3 separate regions of the Homo sapiens genome follow, and all the other regions are linked to region 3. The links are contacts of gene promoters, found by promoter capture Hi-C in blood cells and fetal thymus (Javierre and others, 2016). All regions are on one chromosome and are shown on one strand. The core of a region is centred on a gene start or on the middle of the fragment in contact, and the rest is flanking DNA. Distances in the headings are between cores, read along the strand shown.

Evidence for each region. The method cuts DNA at HindIII sites, captures the fragments that hold promoters and counts their contacts. A CHiCAGO score of 5 or more calls a contact.
Region 1: a fragment that was not itself captured here is called in contact with the fragment with the promoter of COL5A2 in region 3 in 4 of 17 cell types (total CD8 T cells, naive CD8 T cells, activated CD4 T cells and 1 more); the score reaches 5.8 in total CD8 T cells.
Region 2: a contact is called between a fragment that was not itself captured here and the fragment with the promoter of COL5A2 in region 3, in 1 of 17 cell types (activated CD4 T cells). The highest score is 5.6, in activated CD4 T cells.

What each region holds. Positions count from the first base shown.
Region 1 is chr2:189,340,589-189,343,547 of GRCh38, reverse strand. It overlaps a transcript of COL5A2 not described here. Among named protein-coding and RNA genes, the nearest start is that of WDR75, 99 kb to the left of the region's middle. The HindIII fragment of the contact is 1,864 bases long and covers 572-2,435 here.
Region 2 is chr2:189,368,771-189,371,495 of GRCh38, reverse strand. It overlaps a transcript of COL5A2 not described here. Among named protein-coding and RNA genes, the nearest start is that of WDR75, 71 kb to the left of the region's middle. The HindIII fragment of the contact is 2,267 bases long and covers 330-2,596 here.
Region 3 is chr2:189,178,361-189,181,062 of GRCh38, reverse strand. It overlaps COL5A2 (collagen type V alpha 2 chain), which reads left to right and starts at 1,302. Exons shown (of 54, transcript NM_000393.5): 1 at 1,302-1,555. The coding sequence starts at 1,459. The HindIII fragment of the contact is 9,698 bases long and covers 1-2,334 here.

The DNA of each region.
Region 1 (2,959 bases), core at 254-2,753, 160 kb before region 3:
TTTTGTGTAATTTAAAATCTTAATTATTTTGATGATGAGTCATCCAAATTATTTTGGATGTCTGGTCATTTTCATTTAAAAAAGGTTTTGATATAGACAAAAGTATTTTTAAAAACTGTAGAATGTTCTCAAATATAAAATACTAATATCTGATAGTTCAGGATTTCTTACTTCCTAGTGATTTTCACTAAAATTTAAGGTTACTAAGAATAAGAACTGTAGTTAACATATAATTCTGTATATAAAATGTGCCAGAGAATTTCTGTCCTTATGAAAAAAGAATAATTTTGTCTAATTCAGAATTTATCTAAAGGTTGATTCAAATTATGGACTATGGTAAATTTTTGTCCTAAAATAAAATGACTGTTTTTTTTAACACGAGAGAATTTAAGACCAAGCAGAAAATTCAAGCATGTCATACATTGTCTGTGTAAGTCATATGTAGTTTTTCTCCTGTTTCTGTGTATGTCTGTCTTCAGGCACATACAGAGAAAATAGAAAGATGAAAAAGTAAAAACCTGATAGGAAATTGGAGAAATTAGGCTAATTAACATTGCTCATAGTTAAAGCTTCTTAGTCTTGATAAAGGTAAGATAAGAAATATTGTAAAGAAATACATTGGCATTTTGGCAAATCTTTTTTTAAATATAGTTAAGCATGAAGCTAGATTTAGCAGGGAGTCAATTTTCACATAAATGCTTCTGTTGGTTGATTTCACACTGTGTTTGCTATTCTGCATTGGTGGTACTAGCACTAAAGTCCTTACTTGCCAAGTGCCTAAAGTAAATTTCTCAAATACACAAAATGTATAGTGGTATTGGTGGACGTAAAGACATTAATTTGTGTATCAAAAACAACATATTTATTGTGTGTGTGTGTGTGTGTGTGTGTGTGTGTGTGTGTGTGTTTTAGCTCTCTGTAACACTGTAGCCTCTAAGGTAAACTGAATAGAAAAAAATTTGGGGTTGGTTTTTTGTTTGTTTTTGCTTTCATTTTTCATTTATTTGCTATTTGTACTTTTTTGGGTTTATATATATGTATATATACATATATATTATATGCATATATAAATAAATAGAAGCATAAATATATAAGCATATCTATACATATATATGTAAAACCCAAAGGAGAACAGATAGCAAATAAATATATAACAAATAGCAAATAAATAAATATATAAATTATATATATAAAATTATTGGTATTTTTAGTTTCTAACAGAAGGCTTGTATTTGGTTCTATATATATAGTAGTCATTTTGTTTCCTGTGCATTTCTAACAGTTCATCATTTGTTCTATTTATCTAAAATTCCTAAGCTACCTTTGTCAAGTCTCCAAAAAAAAAAAAAAGAGCACACTAGCCATTTAAAACTGAATTGGTTTTGCTTACCTATAATGATCTAGAGAGCTTTAAGAGTTTAAGTTTTCTGGCCAAAATTAAAAGACTTGACTTATTTTTATAAATTCTAAACAGAAATAGTACATTATTTTGTTATTTAAGAAAGTAGCTGAGAATAAAATTGTTTAAATGGTGCTTATTTCAGGTAGTTCAGTTCAATCAATAATTTGAGTTAGTTTCAGATCTTTTTCTTTAGATAATACGGAAAGACTGTGATACGGATACAAAGTTTTAATGTTTAGGAAAGATTGGCCTTGTTCTTAAGGAAATTATATTAACAAATTTCACTCAAATTATTTTAGTTGTGTTTAGTAACATTATTAAAATCAAGTGATACTCACTTTGATTAAGTAGTAATTAAAAATATGAGACTTTCTAGTGATTTTTAATCTCAAGGTTTTTATCACTGTTAGTGTGTGTAGTTGAAAACAAAAACAAAATATGTATAAGTGATGTCCTGGTTTGATGATTCTAGTGGTGAATGTCACCTAATCACTTGTTAGTGCTGCACTAGAAACCAGCCCTGGAAGTGATGATACTCTTTTAAATAGCTGAAAACAAATTATTGTGTGCTTGTTCTTAGTTTGTCCCTGTTTTGTTATATAGTATTTAAGTGGAAGGAGATTATTTATCTTCATACTGAATTTCCAAAACTGATATTTGCTTTTACCATTTTTTTAATGATGGAAAAAATGATAACTGTTGCACATTGATAAGTTTGTCACAGGACTTGTCATATTTTTGATGCTTTTGGTCACAATTGCGTCACTAGAATGCCAGCAATTAGACATATGGAAGTAGTAACCTAACCACTTTAATACAGTGGTTTGAAGTGCAGCAGGTGGCAACTACTAGACACCAAATGACAGTGTTTTAATTTGTGACATGTTAGAGTCATGTTAGTGACTCTACATGTTAGTCACTCTACATGACATCTAGAGTCATGTTAGAATTATGGGACTTTCTGCAGTATTAGTAAACTGAACCACAAATTTCTAGATGTTCTTATATATGTCTGTAAACATTTCATTAAGCTTTGGCTTCTGTTCTTATCTTAAATGCATATACTATACTTGATCATCTATATTGAAGATAGAAACTTATTTTACACCAAAGTAGTCTATCTGCATATTATAGGTAGAGTGCTCGTATATTGTAACTTTATTTTTATATTGTTTTGGAAGTCTTTTTAACTTTGGTTAAATGAATAATTATTATTTTACAATGACCTGTAATTCTGTTTTGATCAAATGTTTTGAGGCTTTAAACGTCTTTGGAAAACATCCTATTAATTAATCCTTGTGCTGCTAAGTTACCAGGTTTTGACTCCTGGGTCTGCAAATGGCACTGACACCTGCTAAACCTTGAACACTGACATCAGTCAAAACCTCAACTTCAGAAACCCAGGAGAGGTGACAATCAAAATGAGCTGCTTTTGTGAGACACAGGGCCAGAAATGAAAACTATTCAATCCCCTTAGGCCCAGGGACTATTGTGGAAAAGGTGGATGTGTGAGATTTTGAGTACTAAAATTAGTTATATATTTTATTTTGTGATGGG
Region 2 (2,725 bases), core at 214-2,713, 190 kb before region 3:
TGTCTATATTTCTATCAACACTTGGTCAGAATCACTTAACACTTCTCTAAGAAGTTCCAAACTTCCCTTATCTATCTTTTTCTGAGACCTCAAAACTCTTCCAACTTCTGCCTATTACCCAGTTCCAAAGCCAGTTCCACATTACCATCTTTATAGCAATGCCCCACTTCTTGGTAGAAATTTTCCATGTTAGTCAGTTTTTGCGTTGCTACAAAGGAATACCTGACGGGATAATTTATAAAGAAAAGAAGTTTATTTGGCTGACAGTTCTGTAGGCTTTACAGGAAGCATGGCACTAGCATCTGCTCCTGGTGAGGTCTCAGGAAGCTTACAATCATGGTGGAAGGCAAAGGGGGAGCAGGCACATCTCATAGCAAAAGCAAGAGATGTGGGGAAGGGGGAGGTGCCATGCTCTTTTAAACAAGCAGAACTCACAGGAACTATTCGAGGGAGAACTCACTTATCACCAAGGGGATGGTGTTAAACCATTCATGAGGAATCTGCACCCATGATCCAAACACTTCCCACCAGGCCCCACCTCCAACATTGAGGACTACATTTCAACACGAAATTTGGAGGAGACAAATTTCCATAATGTATCACATCCTGTCAGACTTAGCCTTTTTTTTAGCACATACTAGCTAGCTGTGTCACTTTCCCTTTCCATTAATGTTTCTGTTCCTGTGAGCATTGGTATTTAATAAGTCAGTCAGTCAATTGTATAATTTCAGATACTGAATAAATCCTATAAAGGAAATAAAATACGTTTTGGGCCTATGAAATTATGTATGTGAGTATATGTGTTTATAGAAGAAGATTGTTTATTATCTATGTATGTTGTATGTGTTGTATGTGCATGTTGTATGGGTGTTGAGTATGATTGTATGTGGTTATACATTTTCTGTGTCACGTGTTGTGTGTGGCTTTATGTGTTGAGTGTGATTGTGTGTGTGTGTTTTATTTTAGATAATGTGACAGCCAGAGATGACATCTCTGAAAATGACTTGTTGAAATTATATATCAAAAGTTTATGTTGCTGTTATGACAAGTTTATATAATTCTGTTGACTTTACACTATTAATGTGATGATGAGGAGAGAAATAAAACACATTGAACACCTCTTTTCACACATTATTTTATTCTTATAATGACTCTATGAAATAGATATTTTTATTGTTGTTCTGCAGATGAGGGGAATAGGAACTTGTTCAAGGTTGCCAAGCCATCAAGTGATACTAGAAATTGGATTTGAAATGCATTTCTTAGACTTCATAACTCATTGCTCTTTCAGCTTTACCACACCACCCATTCCTAAAGCCAGAAAAAAGACAATGGAGAGAGAAAAAAGTACAATTAGAGGTAGAGATGAGATGACGGAGAAAATTAAATGCAACAGGGAGTCATTTGGTGTCCATTGTGGCAGCATAACAGACTTGCTGGGAGTATTAATGAGTCAAAAAATGTAAAGCACATAGAACAATGCCTGGCATACAGTATGTGCTATATGCATTAACTTTTGTTATTATTACCTGCCCAATAAATTTATGGGTAAAGCTGATACAGTGTCTTGACACATGAGGTTTATGGTCTTTAATCAATACATGAGGAAGAATTGAGTGCATACTGAAGTTCAGTCGTGTGACCTGCTAGACCTCATCATGCAATCGGAAAACTAACACAAACCAACCAACCATTGTTGGAAAACATAGTCAAAGCAAAACTCATCTTTTGCCCATGAAGCTATTACAAATATATTTGGAATGTTTGTTTTGGAATTATGTAATTTTCTTAGAAATGACTCAAGAGTTTATTTAGTCACATTATCGTAGAATACTGGCTCTCAATTTTATCAGTACAAATGTCCTTCTACTATAATAATCAAAATTCATAGGTAATACACACAAAAGTTAACAATTAATATAAAATTCAGAATATATAGATATTCAAAAAACTTTCAGGAGTTTGAATAATCTCAATGAAAACGAATGTATCAAACTCCCTCAGTTAAAAGATAGAGATTAGCAGATTGAAAAATAAAGCAAAAATGAAATTATCTATATTCTACATACAAAATAGATATCTGAGGCATAGGGATACAGAAAGTTTAAGCATAAAAAGATAAAAAATAATAATCAAATGCAAACTAAAAGAAATTTGGCATAGCTGTATTAATGTCAGACAAAATATACTTTAAGATTGTTGGAGGGTAGTGATATTAATAAAAAAAACTTGACAGTCTTCAAAATTAGGTAAGACTAGTTCAAAACATACATTTATAATATGATTTTTCAGTATTAGTGATACATGCTCTAACTTAAATCTTTGGTAAGTCACAGTAACTTTCTTCTTCCAGTTAGTTACAAATGCTTATATATTTCATGTTTTATTTTATTTGAAGCCATGTTTTGAATTTAATGTGTTGTCTAGACAAAACAAACATTTAGTGTTATTATTTGCTTGTAAGCAGCTGAAGCAGGACACATTCTCATGGCACAAATGAAATCACTTCTGTTTACTGTATTGTAGTAGATAGGTGACCTCTGTTCATTAGTGAGGAAGTAAATTTAGAAGGATGGAACTTCTCAAGAAACAAGCTTTTCCTTTTTTCTTTATGATCACCTGAATAGGCCGAGTTAACTATATAGTACATGGTTCAACTGATTTACTGTGTACCTACAGAATGGGTAGGGTGTAGAAATCCGAATCATTCATTAGGAAAGGAGAA
Region 3 (2,702 bases), core at 53-2,552:
TTAGTTTCTCAACACCTACATATGTTCCTTGAAGGTGATGGGTATGTCTTTTATTTCTTTTATGTCATCCTTTCTGCCCAGTGCTTAGCACAGTGCAAGGCACCTGTTGCCCAATAATTATAAACAATTGACTCACTTGTATTGTATAGAACATCCATCCTGATTCTAGGGAGACTCAAGGTGGCAAATACATTAGATTGTATAGAACTCTCTGAGGTCATTAAGATCTTGGCAAGTGTGAGGGTGGCACAAAAGTTCATCGATAATTTTCCTTAAAATGCATGTTCAACTGGGGCTATCATATTCCCTGCAAAGCTGGCTTAAAGCTAATAATACCACCATCTGCTTTTATGTAGCTCTTTGCAATTTGGAGCTTCATTAATAATACATTACTCATTTTAGTGTCACTAAACCCTGTACACTGGTCAGGGTAAAGCCCTTTTCTCAAATGAGAAAATTGGAGTGCACAGAGATAAAGGACTATATGCACATTTACAAAATTATTGAGTGGCAGAACCACTCACAAAAGGCAGAAGCAAGCCTTTTTTCATCCAAAGGTAGAGTACTTCCCATTCCTCTGCACTGCTTAGTAGACTATTTTTCAACATGGTAAAACTCTCTGGGACAAGAGGAACCTGAAGATGTGGCCCCTTAACAAGAGATGTGGAGAAATTAGGAAAGGACATGCTTTCTTAATTCAAATTACAATGTATCACAAATTCATTTATCCAAAATGGTTTTCTAACCTGGACTTTACCTGGGCAACATTCTAATAATCTCCTTCCAGAGTATGGGAAAAGAAACCGAATCTGAGAAGGGGATAAGAATACTCCCTATTCAGTCAAAAGAAAGGGTTAAAATGTGATTGTTTAAAGATTTAAGGTGGAGAAGAGAGTCTTGAATTATCTAAATGTAAAAAAACTAGGGTAAAAGGCTGGATTTCCTTCGGAATGTCTTTTTCAGCTTATAGGGGAAAAGTTAAAGGGTGTGTGTCTGGGGGGAAGGGTTAGGGAGGGGAAAATAGAACCCTTTTCTTCTAACAGCCTTTCTTAAAAAATAAAAGAAAAGAGAAACAAATGTTTGTTTCTGTTATTAAGCCCCATCTATGCTTAAAAGTTAAATGAAATAGGGAAAGTTCAGGCACAGAGACGCGTGTTCTGATTTGGTTGTTTACCATCAATCAGACCGTTGCTTGGCAGACACTGGATGGTTATGAGCCTGAACAAGCTGAAAAGGGGCAGGAAAAGAAGTGGAGGCAGCATTCTTCCTATTTAAAGCTGCATCGCTTGAAAAAAGTTTTCGCAGACTGTGCTGGAGCTGGTGCTGAAAAAGGGGGTTTGCAGAGGCTGCCCTGGGGCTGGTGCTGAAAGAAGAGCCCACAGCTGACTTCATGGTGCTACAATAACCTCAGAATCTACTTTTCACTCTCAGGAGAACCCACATGTCTAATATTTAGACATGATGGCAAACTGGGCGGAAGCAAGACCTCTCCTCATTCTTATTGTTTTATTAGGGCAATTTGTCTCAATAAAAGCCCAGGAAGAAGACGAGGATGGTGAGTTTGCCATTTGCTTTGCTTGTAGTGTTTATTGCACGGTTTGGGAAATAGGTGGAATGTTAAGCCTCAGGAAGAGCGTGAAGAGGAGGTTCTGGTTTGAAGTTTGAGAAGGGGGCTGACGGATTTGCACCTGGAAAACGACTTGAAAGACAATTGGGATGTTTGTAAATCCGGAGCTTCTAGATCCACCGTTGGAGAGAGTACACTACTAAATTTTTCTGGGAAAGCCTACAATAAGTCCTTTTGGCTGAGTGTGAGAGTGGGACGTTTAAAATAAGAAAAGAGTGAATGCTTAAAACGGAGCACTAAAGGCATTTTAGTTAGAGGAGCTCTGTTCTGTGGGCTGGAGTTTTCAGAGCAAGGAAAAGTCGCGGCAGAAGCTGGGTAGGGTGGAGTCTTTTTGTACTGAACTTCAGCTGCTTCATAAAATTCTTTGTTTAGTAAAACCTCTGCAGCAACTCTGATAGCTTTGATTTTTCTTTGTCTTTGGCTCCTCATTCTTTCCTCTTTAACAATTTAAACTTCTTTTTACCATTTTCATTTGTGAAAATGTGATCACTTTTGCTTACTGGGAGGCAGTCTCGTTTGTTTCTCCATGACAGAGGCTGATAGAAGCCAGATTTCTTAAACAGTGGTATTTTCCCACCCTACTGGCTTGATTAACAGGACAGTGGTGGTTCCCGGTTGGATGGCGGAAGGCAGGAAATCAGCATGTCTTGTATATATCTTATTTGGCATGGAATATTTGCATGGACATTACCCCTTAGACCCAAGCTTTTTTTTTTTTTTTTTTTTAAAGATAAATCTTGCCTGGTGACCACATTTTTTTCCTATGCAATTTTCATATGTTACAGTTGGGTTATATGGTATGGTTAAGCAAAAATGCATAGCTGTTGTAGTATATAAGAAAATATTTAAATTGATTCCTCTATTAAATCTTTAATCTTGAGGGTTGCAATTTCAAATACAGACATGTACTCCTTTAAAATAAGCCACTGTAGATTTTCATCAACTCAACCATGTAACATCAAACTCAAGCTTTTAAAACTTTGGACATTCATTAACCTTTTCTATTACTTTCATATATAGACACATACATACAGGTATATATGTATATATACTATGTATATATCTATATTTTTAG